3 separate regions of the Homo sapiens genome follow, and all the other regions are linked to region 2. The links are contacts of gene promoters, found by promoter capture Hi-C in blood cells and fetal thymus (Javierre and others, 2016). All regions are on one chromosome and are shown on one strand. The core of a region is centred on a gene start or on the middle of the fragment in contact, and the rest is flanking DNA. Distances in the headings are between cores, read along the strand shown. Region 1 overlaps ATAD2B (ATPase family AAA domain containing 2B). Region 2 holds the start of PFN4 (profilin family member 4). Region 3 overlaps ATAD2B (ATPase family AAA domain containing 2B).

Region 1 (3,606 bases), core at 125-2,624, 330 kb before region 2:
TCACTCATTCCTGACCCCTTCTTTAATGCACCACTCAAGCTGATGCTTTCTGTGTGATGCCTTCCCTAACTTTCCCAGATGCACTTAGGCACACCTTCCAATATTTCTGAAAAAACAGTTCAATAATGTTCAGTAAATTTTTACAGATGTGTAGCCATCACAAGCACATTTTAGAACATTTCCATTACCCCAAAAAGTTTCCTCAGGCCTATCTGCAGTCAATCCCCACTCCCACTCCCATGTCCCAGCCTAACAACCACTGATAATGCTTTCTGTCTCTAGAGAATTGCCTCTTCTAGACATTTTGTATCATACAACTGACAGTCTTTTATGCCTGGCTTCTGTCACTTAAAACTTCAGGTTTTTCCAAGTTGTAGTATGTATTAGTATTTCATTCCATTTATTGCTGAATAGTATTTCATCACATTTTGTTTAGCCATTCACCAATTAAGGAACATTTGGATTGTTTCCACTTTTTGCTAGTATGAGTACAACAACTAGAAACATTCCCATACAAATGTCTTTCTGTGAAAGTATGTTTTCATTTCTTTTGTGTAGATAACTAGGAGTGGAATTGCTGAGTCATACCATAAATTTATGTTTAACTTTGGAAAGTGGCTGCACCATTTTACAATCCCACCAGCAGTATATAAGGACTCCAGTTTCTATATCCTTGCCAATACTTGGTATTCTTTATTTTTGATTACAGCTATTAGGTTGGTGCAAAAGCACTTTTTTTTTTTTTTTGCAGCTTTCAATGGCAAAAAACGCAATTACTCTTGCCCAACCTATATTTTAGTGGGTTGCAGTGGTATTTCATTCCTGAATGACTGATAATGAGCATCTTTTCATACACTTATCATCCATTTACATATACTCTAAGGAACCTCATATAAAAGGAATTATACAAAATTTGTCCTATGACTAAGTTAGCATAATGTCTTCAAGCTTCATCCATGTTACAACATGCATCAAAATTTTCTCCTTTTTAAGGCTAAATAATGTTCCATTGTATATGCTACATTTTGTTTATCCTTTCAACTATCAATGGACACTGAGGATGTTTCCACCTTTTGGTTACTATGAATGATGCTGTTGTGAACATGGGTGTGCAAATACCTGTTCAAGTCCCTGCTTTCAATTCTTTTGAGTAAGTACCTAGAACTTGATTGGCTGGATCATATGGCATTTATATATTTAAGATAATGTCATACTGTTTTCCACAGTGGCTATACAATTTTACATTCCCACCAGCAATGCAAAAAGGTTCTCCTTTTTCCACATCCTCATCAACATTTGTTAATTTCTGTTTTTTTTTAATAACAGCCATCTTTTTTTTTTTTTGAGACGGAGTCTTGCTCTGTCGCCCAGGCTGGAGTGCAGTGGTGCAATCTCGGCTCACTGCAAGCTCCGCCTCCTGGGTTCACGCCATTCTCCTGCCTCAGTCTCCCAAGCAGCGTGCCACCACGCCCAGCCTAATTTTTGTATTTTTAGTAGAGACGGGGTTTCACTACGTTGGCCAGGATGGTCTCGATCTCCTGACCTCGTGATCCACCAGCCTCAGCCTCCCAAAGTGCTGGGATTACAGGCATGAGCTATGGCACCTGGCCAACCTTTTTGTTTTATCGAATTTATTAACACATTCCTTAGAATTGTTAGTCCCCAGTTTTGAAGGTAGGGTTCCTGCAACCTTTGTAATAAGAAAAATTAATGGTTAAGAACTTAAGATCTAAAAAAAAAAAAAAGAACTTAAGATCTCAATAACAAAAGGTGTGAAAAAGAGGTCAGAAATAAACCTAAGAAAGCTTTCATAAATAAAATTTGCTTTGCTCAAAACAAAATAGGATATCAACCCATTAAATAAAAATAGAAATAGTTTACATATCTCAAAATAGTAACTATGTTTACCTACTATCCTATTTCACTTAGGGAAAAAAAACTTGTGGCCGGGCACGGTGGCTCACACCTGTAATCCCAACACTTTGGGAGGCTGAGGTGGGTGGATCACGAAGTCAGGAGATCAAGACCATACTGGCTAACACAGTGAAATCCCTTCTCTACTAAAAATACAAAAAATTAGCTGGGCGTGGTGGCGGGCGCCTTTAGTCCCAGCTACTCCAGGAGGCTTAGGCAGAAGAATGGCGTGAACCCGGGAGGCAGAGCTTGCAGTGAGCCGAGATTGTGCCACTGCACTCCAGCCTGGGCAACAGCGAGAGACTCTGTCTCAAAAAAAAAAAAAAAAAAAAAAAAAAAACTTGAGAAGATTTCCTTCCTCTTAAATTTTAAGAATCACGTAATTGTTTTATTACCAAAATATTAATATTAAAACAGTTCCCTTGTATCTTATGATCATTAATCTGAGTTTTCAATGCCCCTACTTGATTTTTCTAATTGAAGTTACTGATTTTCCCCTCCCAGGTCCTACCATAAACCTAGAGAGACAATGACAAGAAACATTTAAGATAACAAAATGCTATATGTAATCTTACTTTCATCAGCATAGCTGAGGAATATTTCTTTAAAATTCATTTCCAATATACTGAATTATATAATCTTAAACCTGCTCATAATAATTTAATAACAAAGCAGATACTGTGAATGTCTTCAGAAACAGAAATACAATTCTGGCCAAGGTTTACATTCCTTCCTACAAATATCTCTAATTTATTTGCTTCCTCCCTTAAGAGTCTTTTTTCTGTGCTCAACCTTAAATTAACTCTCTTCTCTAATTCTCCATAAATACCTTGCAATTCCCATATATCTCAAATAAAATTCTCCAAGTATCTTCAGAAAGGGTTTATAAAAGTAAATTTACTTACACTACAATTCTGCATGGTTCTCAAGTGGTCAAAAATTTAAAGAAAAAATATTTTAAAAGAAAGAATTATGCAGAAAGCGAGTGAGGCTGGGCAAGGGTTACTTAAATCCTACGTGATGATTCAACTGTTAGTTCCTTTTTTCATGCAGCAAACTTTTACAGAGTAATTCCAATGTGTTAGCACTGTGCTAGGAATGGGAGAAATGATGGCCAGTAACACCTGAAAGTGCTAGTGGTCTAGAGACCAGAGGTGCACAAACTTTTTGGTCTCAGGACCCCAAAAAAGCTTTTATGTATGTGAGCTATATGCATCAATATTTACAGATTTTAAATAAGCCCATTAGATATTAACACTAACATTAAAAGAATAAAACATATATTCTTTTGAAAAATATATTTTTCCAAAATATAGAAAGAACATAAAACACATAAAACAAAATTTAGCGAGAAAAGTGGCACTGTTTTATCTTTTTTTTGAGACAGCGTCTCACTCTGTCACCCAGGCTGGAGTGCAGTGACACGATCTTGGCTCACTGCATCCACCTCCCAGGCTTAAGCGATCCTCCCACCTCAGCCTCCTGAATAGCTGGGACTACAGGCACGCGCCATCATACCCAGCTAATTTTTGTATTGTTTGTAGAGATGGTGTTATGCCATGTTGCCTAGGCTGGTCTCATACTCCTAGGCTCAAGTGATCCGCTTGCCTCAGCCTTTCAAAGTGCTGGGATTACAGGCATGGGCCACCACATCCAGCCAGCACTGTTTTAAATGTTTTCAATTCTCTTTTG
Region 2 (3,366 bases), core at 477-2,976:
CTATAGTTTGAATCTCATGTTGAAATCTGATTCCCAGCGTTTTCGGTGGGGCCTAATGGGAGGTATTTGGATCATGAATAGACTGATGCCCTCCCTGCGAGCTGGGGGAAGCTGTGAGTTTTCACTGTATTTGTTCCAGGAGAGCTGGCTCTTAGAAAGAGCCTGGCACCTCTCCACTTGCTCTCTCTTGCTTCCTCTCCCCCACTGTGATCTCTGCACATGCTGGCTCCCCTTCACCTCTGCCATGAGTGGAAGCAGCCTGAGGCTTTCACAGATGACCAGTCTTCCAGGCAGTAGAACTGTGAGCCAAATAAACCTCTTTTCTTTATAAATTACCCAGCTTCAGGTATTCCTTTATATCAACAGTAAAAAGACTAAGCCTAGAAACCTAAAATATTTATGTAGCTCTTTACAGAAAAAGTTCATTTAAAAGTCATGTCTGGGCTGGGCACGGTGGCTCATGCCTGTAATCCCAGCACTTTGGGAGGCCGAGGCAGGTGGATCACCTGAGGTTAGGAGTTTGAGACTAGCCTGACCAACATGGTAAAACACCATCTCTACTAAAAATACAAAAATTAGCCGGGCCTGGTAGCGCACTCCTGTAATCCCAGCTACTCGGGAGGCTAAGGCTCAAGAATCGCTTGAGAGGCGGAGGTTGCAGTGAGCTGAGATCATGCCATTGCATCCCAGGCTAAGCAACAAGAGTGAAATTCCGTCTCAAAAAAAAAAAAAAGTCATGTCTGCTTCATTTTTTGGAAGAATAGAAATAATAAGTAAATCAAGTCTTAGGTCCAAACTTGTTTTTTCTTACATTGAAACCTGGTGATGCTACACACAAGCTCCGCTCCTGGATTTTGATGAGGGCTGCACTGTCCACATGCTTGGTTCCCAAGAGGGTGTCTAACAATAAGCTCTGCAAATGGCTCATGTTCCCTCAACTCTGAAAGGGAAAGTGCAGTTGAAGCCATTGACTCTGGCTAGCTTTTAAAAGGCATGTGAATACAAATGTCCTTAAGACACTGCAGACAGTTCTAAGATCAGCAAGTGTACTTTGAAAAGGTACAGGGTGAAAACGGTGGTCCATCATTCAGGGCCCACCAGTACCCAAAGAGGAAAACAGAATCATAGAAAAATCACAGCTCACACAGAATAGGTTATGAAGCTGAGTTTGGAAAATCACAGCCTGGTGATTTTCTGGCTATGTCAATGGTTTACATCAGGATTATCTGCGATTTAAAAACAAACATTACACACTGAGAAAAACTCTGTAAAATAAAAAATAAAAACAAAAAACAAAACCCAGCCAGGATGGAGAGCTACCCTGCTAAGTTAAACACGACTAAAAGAGATTATGCGTGGCCATAAACCCACACATTCCCTTCCCGGTGACCTGCATCAGCGCCAGCTATGAACGCTGATCAACATCCCAATGGACTAAAAACACCTTGAAGGCACTTAAACCCACATTTCCCGCACAAGTCCCCAAGCCTTGGACCCCCCTCATCAGGACCTCCGGCACAGGCGCCCGTTTCCCGCCACTGCCTTCCAGTGGTTTGGTCCCCGAGCAGGACCCAAGGCGGGGCAGGGGGTGGTGAGCGGTGAATTCCCTGGCACCGAGGACTCGAGGGAGCGGACGCCACCCCGCTCTGTGGTGCCCGCAAGGACCCGGCGACCAAGGACCCGACCGTCAACGGACGCGGTTGCGGGTGGGTGGCGGCGGCAGGATTGGCCGGGCCACGCGCCGGTCACCGAGAAGCAGCGACTCCAGCCCCTTCCGCAAACCAAGACCCGCCACCTAGAGCCGCCGCCCAATCCCCTTTGGGCCTGAAGCCGTCCTCCGCCGCCCCGGCACCGCCCGCGCGGACTCGCTGTGGAACCCGCGGCGCAGGGGGCGGAGTGCTCGCGCGGCGCTGCGTCCGGGAGACGGTGGGCGCCAACATTCGCGCGTTCCGCAGACGCGGGCGGGCTCCCTTCCAGCCGCAGTCGGACGGCTCCGGGGTCGTCGGGCCGGGCCCGAGTGTGTAGCAGGACGGCCGCGGGCCTGCTGGCCTTGGGAGGGCAGAGAGGTGCCTGTCGCGGCCGGCGACCTCCCCGCCAGGCCGGGCGGTCCCCGCGCACGACGCGCCTGCGCGGGAGGCCCCCGGCCCGGGGCTGGCGTGGAGGCCGCAGGCGCCCGGCCTAGTGGGTGGGAGGAAGGGCCGGGAGTGGGCGCGATGAGCGAGAGCGGGTGCGGACGCCTACGACATCCCCGTCGCACCCGTGCCTCGGGGAGGACTTCGAGCCGCTCAGAGCTCGAAGACTCGCGCAGTATGACCGAAAGCCCCTCCCTGCCTTCTCTAAGCAGCTCAGCCTGTGTTTCTGTGGCCAGAAAGTTGCAGTTCTTCCCACTCGAGGCCACCAAAGTCAGAAAAGTGTTGCAAATGGGACTCCGAGAGGCCAGGCTGAAGCTGCCACACTGGCTGGAATGGGCTGCCTTGGAGGGGGACGTGGGAATCCATTCCAAGGGACGGGGGATTCTTTCAAAGAGCATCTCGCCTGCTTATAAAGGAGGCTGGCTCTGAAGCCGTCATCTGGAGTCTGTAGTGAAGGCCTCTTGTTAGGGAAACTGGATGGTTAGTGTTCAAAATCCATTTTGCGTGTGTGCAAGGACACAGGTGGTATTAAACAGAAGAGAAAATCAGATGACTGTGAAATGTTCAATACTAAATAAGATGATTTTTAGTTTTTCCAGGGGCATTGTTATTTGTGACCACAATGAAAAATGTAGACAGTGATGATCTGGTAACTGGCACACTTCCCAAGCTCAAGAGCTCAAAAGAATGGTTGGAGCCCAAGCCCCTTTGTTTTATGGAGGTATATATCAAATAGTGTGGGATTTGGAGATTTTTTTACTTGGATCGTTGCAGTAGGAAGTGGCTTGTGCTAAATATATTGTTTTTTCTATTGTTTGTTTTTATTTCATTCTGTTTATTATTCCCTTCACTTTACTAACTTTGTATATTCACTTTGCTGTTTTTTTCTAACATCTTAAGGTGGAATCATAGGTCATTGATTATATACCTTTTAAAATGTAACATAGCTATAAGTTTCTCTTGAGGTACTGCCTTAGCTGCATCACCCAAATTTTGATATGATGTATTTATTTATTTATTTATATTTGAGACAGGGTCTTGCTATGTTTCCTCCTGGAATCAAGCCATCCTTCCACTCCCTAGTAGCTGGAAGTATAGGCGCACGCCACCATGTCTGGCTAATTTTTGTATTTTCTGTAGAGATACAAAAAATCTCTACACTGTGTCGCCTAGGCTGGTCCCCAACTCCTGAGCTCAAGCAATCCACCTACCGTGGTGTTCCAAAATGCTGGGA
Region 3 (3,676 bases), core at 489-2,988, 270 kb before region 2:
GACAGGGCCTCACTCTCTCACCTAGGCTGTAGTTCGGTGGCACGATTGTGGCTCACTGCAGCCTTGACCTCCCCAGGCTCAAGTGATCCTCTCACGTCAGCCTCCCAAGTAGCTAGGACGAGAGGCACACCACACCCAACTAATTTTTGTACTTTTAGTAGAGACACGGTTTTGCCACATTGCCCAGGCTGGTCTCAAACTGCTGAGCTCAAGAGATCCACTGTCCTTGGCCTCCCAAAGTGCTGGGACTACAAGTGTGAGCCACTGTGCCCAGTCATGAATAGTCTATTTTTAAGACCATTTGTTAGGGCAGTTTTAGGTTAACAGCCAAATTGAGAAGGAAATACAGAGACTTTCATACGTCCCCCGCCTGCCCCTTCATATGTATACCCATGCCCCAACAGAGTGGTGCACTTATTTCAACTGATGAACCTACAATGACACATCACAATCTACAAAGTCCACAGTTTACATTAAGGTTCACGCTTGATGATATACATTCTATGGGTTTGGACAAACATATCATGATGTGGATCCACTCTTACAGTATAACACAGACTATTTTCACTGCCCTAAAAAATCTTTTATACTCTGCCTACAAATCCCCCTCAGTCTACTAATTTTTAAAAATATAAGAAAAAAGGTAGTATAAAATTGGAAACAAAAATAATAGTAGAAAATCTATGAAAACAGAAGTTGCCTCTTTGGGGGAGAAAGGACCAATAAAATTGATAATCCTCTAGCCGGAGTAATCAAGAAAAAAAAAAAGAGAAAACACAGGTTATCACCATCGGAAATGAAAAGAATACTACCGCAGACTATTTAGGCATTAAGGAGATAACAGAATAGTAGGAAAAAATGTATGTAAATTTCTTGACTTAGGTGAAATGAACAAATTCCTTTAAAGATAAACTACCAAACTAACAAAACTGACCTAAGAATAAATAGAAAACTTGAACAGCCCTGTATCAACTGAAGAAATTTAACTTGTAATCAAAAACCTTTCCATAAACAAAACTCCAGGCCCAGGTATTTTCACTGGTGAATTCTCTCAAACACTTAAGAAATGAATAACATCAAACTTACACAAACACTTTCAGAAAATAGAGAAAGAGGGAATGCCATCTCATCTTTTTTTTTTTAAGAGACAGGGTCTCACTATGTTGCCCAGGCTGCTCTTGCACTCCTAGACTCAAGAGATCCTGCTGCCTCAGCCTCTCAAAGTGTTGAGATTACAGGCATGCACCATCACACCCAGTGTATATCTCATCTAATACACATCAAAATTACCTGATTCCAAAACCAGATGCAGATATTTTAAGAGTAATTACAGATCAAAATCTCATTAATACAGATAATAAAACTTTTTATATTAGCAAGTGGAATCCAATAATTTTTTAAGAAAGACAATATATTATGAGCAAGTGAGGTTTATTCTAAGAATGCAAAGTTAGTTTACTATCTAAAATTCAGGCCAGGCGCAGTGGCTCACACTTGTAATCCCAGCACTTCGGGAGGCCGAGGCAGGTGGATCACCTGAGGTCAGGCGTTCAAGACAAGCCTGACCAACATGGTGAAACCCTGTCTCTACTAAAAACACAAAAATTAGCCAGGCACGGTGGCAGACACCTGTAATGCCAGGTACTCGGGAGGCTGAGGCAAGAGAATCACTTGAACCCAGGAGGTGGAGGTTGCAGTGAGCCGAGATCACGCCATTGCACTCCAGCATGGGCGACAGAGCGAGACTCCATCTCCAAAAAAAAAAAAAAATCTAAAATTCAATCAAAATAATGCTCTACCTTAATAGAATACAGGAGAAAAGCCATATGATCAATTCAAAAGAGACAGAAAAAAAAATATGTTACAAAGTTCAGTACTCTATCCCAGTAAAATAAACTCTCACAGCAAACTAGGAATATAGTGGAAATCCCTCAATGTAATAAAGGGCACCTATGAAAAACTTAGTTAAAATCACATTCAATGGTTAAAGTCTCAATGTTTTACAGCCAATGAAGGAAACAGGCAGTGATTTCCATTATCACCATTACTATTTAACTGAATTCTAGCCAAAGAAATAAGAAAAAGAAATAAAAGACATAGATTGGAAAGGAAGAAGTAGAAGTACCTTTATTTGCAGATAAGGTATATGTATAAAACCGTAAGGAAACCACAAAATAGCTAATAGAACTAACAAATGAATTTAGCAAGGTTGTGGATACAAAGTCTATAAACTCAGTTGTATTTTTATAAACCAGCAGTAAGCAATTAGAAAATAAATTTTCTTTCAAAACTCCATTCACATTAAATGAACAATAAAGTATTTAGGGATGCATTAAACAAAAGATGCCTAAGATCCTTATGCTAAAACCATAAGACACAGGAAAAGGAAATTAAAGAATACCTAAATAAATGAACAGAATTACCATGTTCATAGACTGAAAGACGAATAAGGATGCAATTCTTCCCAAATAGATCGAAGGATTAATTGCAATCCCAAATAAATCCCAACAGTCTTTTCTAAAGAAACTGACAAGAGGCTTTAGAAATGTAAATGGAAAGATAATAGATGACTACAACAATTCTGAAAAAGAACAAATTTGGAGGACTTATACTAAAATGAACATTAATCAAGACAGTGGTATAAGGATAGACCTGTAGATCAATGGAATCAACTAACAAATCTAGAAATAGACACACATTTATATGGTCAATTTTTGTCAAAGACGTGCCAAGAAATTTAACAAAGTAAACTCTTCAATATATGGTTCTGGAACAAATGAGTATCTGTATAAAAAAATAGGCTGGGCATGGTGGCTCATGCCTGTAATACCAGCACTTTGGGAGGCCGAAGCAGGAGAATCACCTGAGGTCAGAAGTTCGAGACCAGCCTGGCCAACATGGTGAAACATACCTCTACTAATAATACAAAAATTCGCCAGGCATGGTAGCACACACCTGTAATCCCAGCTACTCAGGAGGCTGAGGCACAAGAATCACTTGAACCTGGGAGGTGGAGGCTACAGTGAGCTGAGATCGCGCGACTGCACTCCAGCCTGGGCAACAGAGTGACACTCCGTCTCAAAGAAAAAAAAAGAATACCTGTATTAAAAAAATAAACTTCAGTCCATACCTTAAACTATCTACAAAAATTAACTTAAACCCTCACCTCTTACTGATACACAAACATTAACGTAAAATGAATCATTGACTTAAATATTAAGAGCTAACACTGGCTGGGAACAGTGGCTCATGCCTGTAAGCCCAACACTTTGGGAGGCCGAGGTGGGTGGATCACCTGAGGTCAGGAGTTCTAGACCAGCCTGGCCAATATGGTGAAACCCCACCTCTACTAAAAATACAAAAATTAGCCAGGCGTGGTGGCAGGCACCTGTAATCCCAGCTACTCGGGGGGCCAAGGCAGGAGAATCGCTTGAACCTGGCAGGCGGCGGTTGCAGTGAGCCAAGATCGTGCCATTGCACTCCAGCCTGGGGCACAAGATCGAGACTTCGTCTCAAAAAAAAAAAAAAAAGCTAACGCTATTAATATTTTCAAAGAAAACATCCAAGAAAATTATTGCCACACTTATTTAGGCAACTTTTCTCAAGCAGAACACAAAAGGCACAGATACATTTTTTAAATCTATATGGTGGCTTTATCAAAATTCAAATCCTGACT

The links. Contacts are between HindIII fragments. The CHiCAGO score rates a contact against its expected background, and 5 or more counts as called.
Region 1: a fragment that was not itself captured here is called in contact with the fragment with the promoter of PFN4 in region 2 in 1 of 17 cell types (naive B cells); the score reaches 5.2 in naive B cells.
Region 3: a contact is called between a fragment that was not itself captured here and the fragment with the promoter of PFN4 in region 2, in 1 of 17 cell types (naive B cells). The highest score is 5.6, in naive B cells.

What each region holds. Positions count from the first base shown.
Region 1 is chr2:23,790,737-23,794,342 of GRCh38, forward strand. All of the region lies in intron 19 of ATAD2B (ATPase family AAA domain containing 2B), which reads right to left. Among named protein-coding and RNA genes, the nearest start is that of ATAD2B, 130 kb to the right of the region's middle. The HindIII fragment of the contact is 857 bases long and covers 947-1,803 here.
Region 2 is chr2:24,121,608-24,124,973 of GRCh38, forward strand. PFN4 (profilin family member 4) reads right to left here and starts at 1,727. Exons shown (of 5, transcript NM_199346.3): 1 at 1,511-1,727; 2 at 812-940. The coding sequence starts at 928. FAM228B (family with sequence similarity 228 member B) reads left to right here and starts at 1,862. Exons shown (of 11, transcript NM_001145710.2): 1 at 1,862-1,926; 2 at 2,723-2,853. The coding sequence starts at 2,755. RefSeq lists a silencer at 1,794-2,293 and an enhancer at 2,364-2,613. The HindIII fragment of the contact is 10,311 bases long and covers 1-3,366 here.
Region 3 is chr2:23,851,165-23,854,840 of GRCh38, forward strand. All of the region lies in intron 13 of ATAD2B (ATPase family AAA domain containing 2B), which reads right to left. Among named protein-coding and RNA genes, the nearest start is that of ATAD2B, 74 kb to the right of the region's middle. The HindIII fragment of the contact is 4,900 bases long and covers 1-3,676 here.